3 separate regions of the Homo sapiens genome follow, and regions 2 and 3 are each linked to region 1. The links are contacts of gene promoters, found by promoter capture Hi-C in blood cells and fetal thymus (Javierre and others, 2016). All regions are on one chromosome and are shown on one strand. The core of a region is centred on a gene start or on the middle of the fragment in contact, and the rest is flanking DNA. Distances in the headings are between cores, read along the strand shown. Region 1 holds the start of MMP27 (matrix metallopeptidase 27). Region 2 overlaps LOC105369460 (a long non-coding RNA gene). Region 3 overlaps YAP1 (Yes1 associated transcriptional regulator).

Region 1 (2,826 bases), core at 192-2,691:
TTTGGGGAGCAGGACTTGAAGGAGCGAAAGGTTAGGGCAGAGAGATGCTTTTTCGTTACAACAAGATAGCACCATTTGACTTCCCTTTTTCTGGTAACTCTATTTTTTTTTAAATTTTGTTCTGAAATATTTTAGAGTTTAAAAAACACAAAAGAACAATACAATGAGCATACTTGTACTTAGCATACTTGTACTTAATACCATTATAACACAAATCCTGATCATGTCTGCCTTCTCCCCTTCATCCCATTGCTCCAGAGGCCAATTAAACAATTTAAACTATATACATATATTAAAACAGTAAATAATAATATTTCTGAAACAAGATTTATAACTGGGATGAGCTTTAAATGCAAAGGAAGTATGTATCTACTTAGATCCTATAAGTTCCTCAGCTATGCCATATAAATTTTGTTTAGGATATGGACAAGGAAGATTTAGAAAGGTGTATCGATTGAGGAGTTAACATTTGGGAAGAAAGGGAAGAAAATTTTAATAATTGGTAGAAGAAAAGGGGAGGACAAGTGAGGGAGGACATTGCTGTAACTAAGACTGTTCCTTCATCTAAAAGTAGCCCAAGTAAAGAAGAATATATTGAAATTAATCCAAAAGGCTCTCACTAACTATATTCTCACTTCTGATGTTAATTTTGGCCTTCATCATCCATGACCTCTATGACTCTTCATCTTCCCAGTCAGCTGTCTTGTCCATGAGACCCTCCATCCCATCTTCCATAGCTGTCTACATATGTATTTTGTTCCAGTCAGGCCAGATTTCCTGCAGCTTATTTCTGCTGTGTTACCTCCTTCCCATGGCCTCTTTGCACTCATACTTCTTCTTCCTTCCTCTGTAAATCCAAATTCTACACATTCTCCAAAACCCAGAGCAAGCCCTAGTGCAAGCCCCAGTGCAGGCTGTATTTAACTTGCATAAAACCTCAAGGCCACACTCATAAGCAATGATCTGCCTTTGGCCCTTCTTAGTCTTTACAATCTGCACTGTGTATTTGCCCACTTGCCTCCTTTTTGTCCTACATTAATTTCTGTATGTGTCTGAATTCTCCAACAAGATTGCATTCACAGGGGCAGGCAAACAGTAGGAATTCAATAAACATTTGAAGTTTATCTTAGTTAATAAGGGTAATCTGACTCCTGATTCATTTGTCTTTTTATGATAACATCCTACCAAGATATTCTGAGATTGCCTTCAAAAGAAAACTTTGCAAGGAAAAAAAAATAACTTGGAGGCTCACTTCCCAGTATATTCAATTCAGTAATAAGCACTAACTGTGTTTACTAAACAATTGCAGGCCAAGATTACAAAATCAGCTCAGTCAAAAAAAAAAAAAAAAAAAAGCAAATCATGACACACTTTATGGCAAGTGTCCCTTTCTGTTATTAATTAAATGATGATACAAGCCAATTCATGCCACGTCTCACTATTATTTTCTAAATTCTGTGCTAACAGAACCGGCTTCAGCTGAAGAAAGAGAGGAATGAAGCGCCTTCTGCTTCTGTTTTTGTTCTTTATAACATTTTCTTCTGCATTTCCCTTAGTCCGGATGACGGAAAATGAAGAAAATATGCAACTGGCTCAGGTACTGTCTTAATAAATGATATCGATGACTATTGATAAAAAGCTTATTTTATTGATTCTCTTGGGACCTAAAAAGAAAACACATTCCTGCAAAAGAGTCCTGAACTTTTTTGTGAGAAGGAACTGCTTTTCATTTGTCTATCTCTGACGATATCAGGAAATTGTGTTGGGGAGGAGGGCTGGCACAGGGAGGGGGAAAGGATCTGCTATAACTTTTAGCAATGGTCACAAATGAAGGGATGTTTAGTGCGAGGAGAAAGGAGAGAGCCCTGCAAGGTATGGAGATCACTATAAAAGCATTTCAAGACAACCAGGAGGACCCAATCTACAATTTGGAGCCCTAATCCCTATATGTATGAAAAAAAATACATTGCTTTACAGATTCCCTCTAAAAATCAGTTCAGTTAACTTTTTATTTTTGGTTAAAGCAAATACATGTGCAAAATGGATAATCACTTATTTATCCTAGAACTTGTTTCAAAGAAACACCAAAATGAAAGTAACAGCAAAAATATGTAAGATAGGTCATCATTCAACAGACAGACGAAGCTTCATTCTCTTCTGTGGAGGTTTAAGAGCTGCGTGCTTTGGCTAATTCTGGTCACTCATAAGTCAACCAAGTCTTGGAAATTGAAAGAGCAGGGTGACTCGTTATTTTCCTCTTTGTGTCCTTCCTTTCTTCTTTCCTCCTTCACTCCTCACTTTCTCTCATTACTTCTTTTTTTTCCCCTTTCCTATTGCCAGAAGGAATTTTAGGCAATTTTGCTTTATCCTGAGATGGAGATTTGCTCTCCTGTAGTCTGTGCCTCTTTTTTTTTTTTCTTATCTTTTTGGTCAGGCATATCTCAACCAGTTCTACTCTCTTGAAATAGAAGGGAATCATCTTGTTCAAAGCAAGAATAGGAGTCTCATAGATGACAAAATTCGGGAAATGCAAGCATTTTTTGGATTGACAGTGACTGGAAAACTGGACTCAAACACCCTTGAGATCATGAAGACACCCAGGTGTGGGGTGCCTGATGTGGGCCAGTATGGCTACACCCTCCCTGGGTGGAGAAAATACAACCTCACCTACAGGTAATGCTTCTGCCAGCTTATTTCCGCCTAATCCAAAGGAACATAAAGATAATTTCCAAGGAACAGAATAATATTCATTCAATTGACTGAGCACTTCCTGTGTGCACAGCACATCTTAGGCTCCATTTACGGTATCTTCCCAACAAACCTGTG
Region 2 (2,812 bases), core at 84-2,583, 420 kb after region 1:
TCACTGCAACCTCCGCCTCCCAGGTTCAAACGGTTATTCTGCCTCAGCCTCCCAAGTAGCTGGGATTACAGGTGCCCGTCACCAAGCCCAGCTAATTTTTCATATTTTCAGTAGAGACAGGTTTTCACCATGTTGGCCAGGCTGGTCTCGAACTCCTGACCTCAGGTGATCCACCTGCCTCAGCCTCCCAAAGTGCTGGGATTACAGGTGTGAGCCAATGTGCCCGGCCTAATTTTCTTTTTAATTTTGTAGAGATGGGGTCTTGCTATGTTGTCCAGGCTGGTCCTGAACTCCCAGGCTCAAGCAATCCTCTAGCCTCAGCCTCCCACTGCTGGGATTACAGGCGTGAGCCACCATGCCTGGCCATTGGAAACCATATACTAAGGGGTGTGGAACAAGCTTGGGTCCCTGATGACTGTGGAGTTGCTCTATCAATGCTGGACCTCTTTATCACAAAAGAATAATAAGAATAAACATTTTCCTTGTTTATATCACCGATATCTGGGTGAAATCTACTCCAAATTGCAACAGTTACTAAAGGCTGGGATTAGAATCTGAACCCAAACACATATGATGTTAAAGTCTCACATTCATTCCATTACCTTGCCAGCTTCCCTGACCATGGAAGCAGGTCTGCAACAAGCCCTGGCTCAGCCACTAACACACACAACAAACAAGTACCGACTACAATATATAGGAGTCATATGCTCTTCTAGGTTCCAGCATACAACAGTAAACAAAGACAAAAATCCCTGGGATTTAATTAATATTCTAATAAGGAATGATATACAATTTTTTAAAAATATGTAAAATGTAGGCTGTGTTAATGATAAATACTATAAAGCTAAATAATGCAGAAAATGTAGATAGGGAATGCTAGGAAGAAGGGTTTCAGGATTTGTTGATTTGTTTTTATTGTTTTTGTTTTGTTTTGTTTTTGAGATGGAGTCTTGCTCTGTTGTCCAGTCTGGAGTGCAGTGGTGCGATCTCGGCTAACCACAACTTCCACCTCCCAGGTTCAAGCAATTCTCCTGCCTCAGCCTCCTGAGTAGCTGGGACTACAGGCGTGAGCCATCATGCCCAGCTAATTTTTGTGTTTGTATCAGAGATGTAGTTTCACTATGTTGGCCAGGCTAGTCTCGAACTCCTGACCTCATGATCCACCCTCCTTGGCCTCCCAAAGTGCTGGGATTATAGGCGTGAGCCACTGCACACGGCCTTGCTAATTTTCTGTATTTTTAGTGGAGACGGGATTTTGCCATGTTGGCCAGGCTGGTCTTGAACTTCTGACCTCAGGTGATCCACACACCTCGGCCTCCCAAAGTACTGGGATTACAGGTGTGAGCCACCACACCCAGCCCCTGAAATTTGAATTGAAGACAATTTTTAACATGTCATGAAATGTTATCCTTTTGATTTTTTTTTTTTGCAGCCATTTAAAAATGTATCTTAACATTCTAGTCAAAAACAAAAACAAAAACAAAAACAAAACAGGCAGTAGACTGGATTTGACCTGCAGGCTGTACTCTGCTAACCCCTGCTTTAGACAGATGTACATTTATTCAATTTTTTTCTTAACTTGGTACATTTTTTTAAATGCATGCTAATGATGAACTTCTTAAAGTTACAGTGCTGGTATCTTGACCCACCAAAAAAAAGTGGTTGCAAATCATAGATCCAAAATGTATTTGAGGCAGAAGATTGTTCAGAACAAAAATCACTGAAAAGATACATTTTTAGACATAGCTCCTTTACAATTACTTCTTGATAGACAATGGAATTTAACTCTGCACTTACATTCTAATTCTACTTTGACAACGGAACCATTGGAAAAATGTTGGCGTATATTTCTCCAGTTTTGGTTTTATATTTTCTTTATAACTTAAAAAATCTAATTATCATTCTTTTTTGAGAAGGCACTCAATAAATGCTTTTTGAATGAATGATCCAGTCTGTTAAAACTGAAACATTTGCATTCACCCTGGCTTAGGCAAAATTGTAATGAAAGTTATCTTGAACATGCACAGTCTGCGTTTTTCTCTCTATACGGTATGTCTTCTATTAATGTTGTTTTTAAACAACCTTTTCCCTTTCCTTCTCTTGCTGAGATCTCAATACCCTTGCGATCCCTTCCACTTTTTATTAAAACCTGTGCTTAGGGTGAATAAGAGCGTTACTCTTAGAATATTGTAAATAACTTCTAGCAGCAAACTGTTTTACTACACTGTTGGGCTCATTTGCATTTTAATAGAATGAATGAAGCTTTGCATCTGGCATGTTAATACTCAGGGAGCCAACAGGTGGGGAAAACATTTCTTCCAGGAACCTCAGGTAAACTTCTGCTTCAGAAATCATGTCCCATAAGAAGTCACCTCCTTCACCTATGAGGAAAGACAACCACGCTGTCACTGGGCGGAATGGTCACAGCTGGCCTGTGGTGGAATCATGCATTGTAACAGGCAAAGGCTCCAATCAAGCCTGTCCTCTACCCTAGATCTGGGGCTGATAGCATTCTGCAAGAACAGCCACAAAATAAGAACAGGAATCATCTGCACTTTGGAAACACCAACACACTGAGACCTGTTTTGGAAAAAAACAGTGTCTGAAATGGAAAGCTTAGGGGAGACACTTCAAACTCAAAGAACTCCCTGCTGAGATTTTAAAGCCCCACCACATAAAGAAAAAACCTTGACGTGTTTGACTAGCAATTGACAATTTATGTAAAATATCAACTTTCATATCACCAATATTTATATCGCCTAACTTTTATAAGGAACATAAAATATACACATGACTATTCGACCTGCCAAGA
Region 3 (2,869 bases), core at 277-2,776, 490 kb after region 1:
AGTGTAGTGGCATGATCTCAGCTCACTGAACCGCTGCCTCCCAGACTCAGGCCATCCTCCCACCTCAGCCTCCTGAGTAGCTGGGACTACAGGTGCATGCCACCAAGCCCAGCTAATTTTTCCGTTTTTAGTAGAGATGGACTTTCACCATATTGGCCAGGCAGGTCTCGGACTTCTGACCTCAGGTCATTTGCCTGCCTCGGCCTCTCAAAGTGCTGGGATTACAGGCGTGAGCCACTGTGCCCTGCCTCAAGAATTCTCATAAGGGCACTTGGGAATGAATCTCACCCTAAGCCTTAAAACAGAAATGAAGAATCTTTACTGGTAAGAAAGGGGATAAGCAAGGTTCTCACTATGGGGAAAAGCTTGTGAGCAGAATAACAGCAACAAGGCAGTGGAGTACACTTAGCTAATAATGGAAGAGTTACTGGCTTAACTGGAACCAGTGAGTGAAAAGGCTACTGACCACAGACCATGAGCCAGTTGCAGAGTTTAAACTCGATCTCATAGGTACTAGGGAACCCCAGATATTAAGAACCAAATTCTTTTTCTTTTTTTCAAGACGGAGTTTTGCTCTTTTCGCCAGGCTGGAGTGCAATGCCACGATCTTGGCTCACTGCAACCTCTGCCTCCCAGGTTCAGGCGATTCTCCCTCCTCAGCCTCCTGAGCAGCTGGGATTAAAGGCGCCCGCCCCACCACATCCAGCTAATTTCCGTATTTTTAGTAGAGACGGGTTTCACCATGTTGACCAGGCTGGTCTCAAACTCCTGACTTCAGGTGATCCACCCGCCTTGGCCTCCCAAAGTGCTGGGATTACAAGCGTGAGCCACCGCCCCCAGTCCAAGAACCATATTCTTAAGCACAAGAGAAGGTAGAAGTGTTCGCACCTCAGGGGGGACTATCTTTCCTCAAAGTTCTTCTCTCAAAAGACCTTAAAACAGAAGCTAGAGTGCATTCCTAAACCCACTTGCTCAAAAGGTCTCTCCAATTTACAAGTGAGCACTGATGTGTAACAGAGATATGACTAGAAAATAGCATTAACTGCTCAATCTCACAAAGCAAAGATGTTTACAGTTTCAGAAAGTTTCTTCTGAGAATGGAAATTGCTTTTGAAACATAAAAATCATAAGTAACCAAAATGAAATTAAAATGTTAAGCTCTTTGGCAGGGTGTGGTGGCTCATGCCTGTAATCCCAGAACTTTGGGAGGACGAGGTGGGCAGATCACCTGAGGTTGGGAGTTCAAGACCAGGCTGACCAACATGGAGAAACCCTGTCTCTACCAAAAACACAAAATTAGCCGGGCATGGTGGCGAATGCCTGTAATCCCAGCTACTTGGGAGGCTGAGGCAGAATCATTTGAACCCGGGAGGCAGAGGTTGCGGTGAGCAGAGATCATGCCATTGCACTCCAACCTGGGCGACAAGGGCAAAACTCCGTCTCAAAATAAAAATAAAAATAAAAATAAAAATAAAAATAAAAAGTTAAGCTCTGTAAGGATGAATTTTTCCAAAATCCTGCCAACATAGTATAATAAATTAAGGTGATAATTTCCATATTTAACTAAGAAGATATATAAATGCCTTTAAAGTTTTTTCAAAATTTTACATTTCAATATCACTTGGGCCATGGATCTTGGAATTTTTCATTAACCTCACCCATACTGACGTTAGTGTACACGAGCACAGCACCCTACAACAGCCACATGATATGTTAAATCCTATAGGAAGTACTTAAAGACAGCTTCTGTAGTAATTCATAAGCATTTTGAAGTTTAGTGGCTTTCCACATCCCACAGCATATGAGGTATACGATTAGAAAATGACACTGATCTCACTATTGCTTGCTAACTCAGCTGCATTAATATCTATTACAAAGTATAAGTTAAAAACCCAGTAACTTTACAACAGCGTCTAGTGTTCAGATACTGAGTGATGTCTTTATACCCTCTGTTCTTTGGGGCTGAAAAGTCCTTTCTAGCTTTCTTGATTATTCTGAGAAACACTATTTAAAGCCATCTTCACTTAAGATATGACTCTTCTGGCTGGGCGCGGTGGCTCACGCCTGTAATACCAGTGCTTTGGGAGGCCGAGGCAGGCGAATCATGAGGTCAGGAGGTGGAGACCATCCTGGATAACATGGTGAAACCCCGTCTCTACTAAAAACACAAAAAATTAGCTGGGCGTAGTGGCAGGCACCTGTAATCACAGCCACTCAGGAGGCTGAGGCAGGAGAATTGCTTGAACCTGGGAGGTGGAGGTTGCAGTGAGCTGAGATTGCGCCACTGCACTCCAGCCTGGGTGACAGAGCAAGACTCCATCTCAAAAAAAAAAAGAAGAAAAGACATGACTCTTCTTTGTGATCTATTTCCTGACATCTACCTTAAGGTTATTTAGAAAATAATAGGATGAGAAAAATATACACATGCTTTCTTGATACAAATACCACCAGATTTCTTGATCTATTTCAAATATAACCCTATACTTGAATTTCATACATTTACTGATAACTTTCCACAATTATGCCAGGTAAATATTAAACACTGACAACTAAAGCATATATAACAAACCAATATTTTAATCTCCAGCATATGCAAAGAAGATTTTTAAAAACCTCTTTCAAGTTTTTTGCTCTGGTCTGGGCAAATCTGAGTAATTACCTCTAATCTTCGTATCTTAGAAGCTTTACTACTAATAAGCCTCACCTTTTCTAAAACTTTACTATTTTAAAAAATCTAAGAATTCCTGATAATTTTAATAACAGTAAAGATTTACTTTTCTATTCAAGTATGAAACAAAGATCAAGAAGAATTTGACTTATTTATCAGATTCAGGGTATAAGACCTTGGGAAAAAAGGAAACAATTTCAA

What was found. The method cuts DNA at HindIII sites, captures the fragments that hold promoters and counts their contacts. A CHiCAGO score of 5 or more calls a contact.
Region 2: a fragment that was not itself captured here is called in contact with the fragment with the promoter of MMP27 in region 1 in 4 of 17 cell types (M0 macrophages, M1 macrophages, M2 macrophages and 1 more); the score reaches 16.5 in M0 macrophages.
Region 3: a fragment that was not itself captured here is called in contact with the fragment with the promoter of MMP27 in region 1 in 3 of 17 cell types (naive CD8 T cells, activated CD4 T cells and non-activated CD4 T cells); the score reaches 6.9 in naive CD8 T cells.

What each region holds. Positions count from the first base shown.
Region 1 is chr11:102,704,384-102,707,209 of GRCh38, reverse strand. It overlaps MMP27 (matrix metallopeptidase 27), which reads left to right and starts at 1,441. Exons shown (of 10, transcript NM_022122.3): 1 at 1,441-1,597; 2 at 2,435-2,673. The coding sequence starts at 1,496. The HindIII fragment of the contact is 3,149 bases long and covers 1-1,641 here.
Region 2 is chr11:102,280,097-102,282,908 of GRCh38, reverse strand. It overlaps LOC105369460 (a long non-coding RNA gene), which reads right to left. Exons shown (of 5, transcript XR_007062863.1): 5 at 1,670-2,812. Among named protein-coding and RNA genes, the nearest start is that of BIRC3, 36 kb to the left of the region's middle. The HindIII fragment of the contact is 1,863 bases long and covers 402-2,264 here.
Region 3 is chr11:102,211,176-102,214,044 of GRCh38, reverse strand. The region is part of intron 6 of YAP1 (Yes1 associated transcriptional regulator); the gene reads right to left. Among named protein-coding and RNA genes, the nearest start is that of YAP1-DT, 100 kb to the right of the region's middle. The HindIII fragment of the contact is 2,317 bases long and covers 368-2,684 here.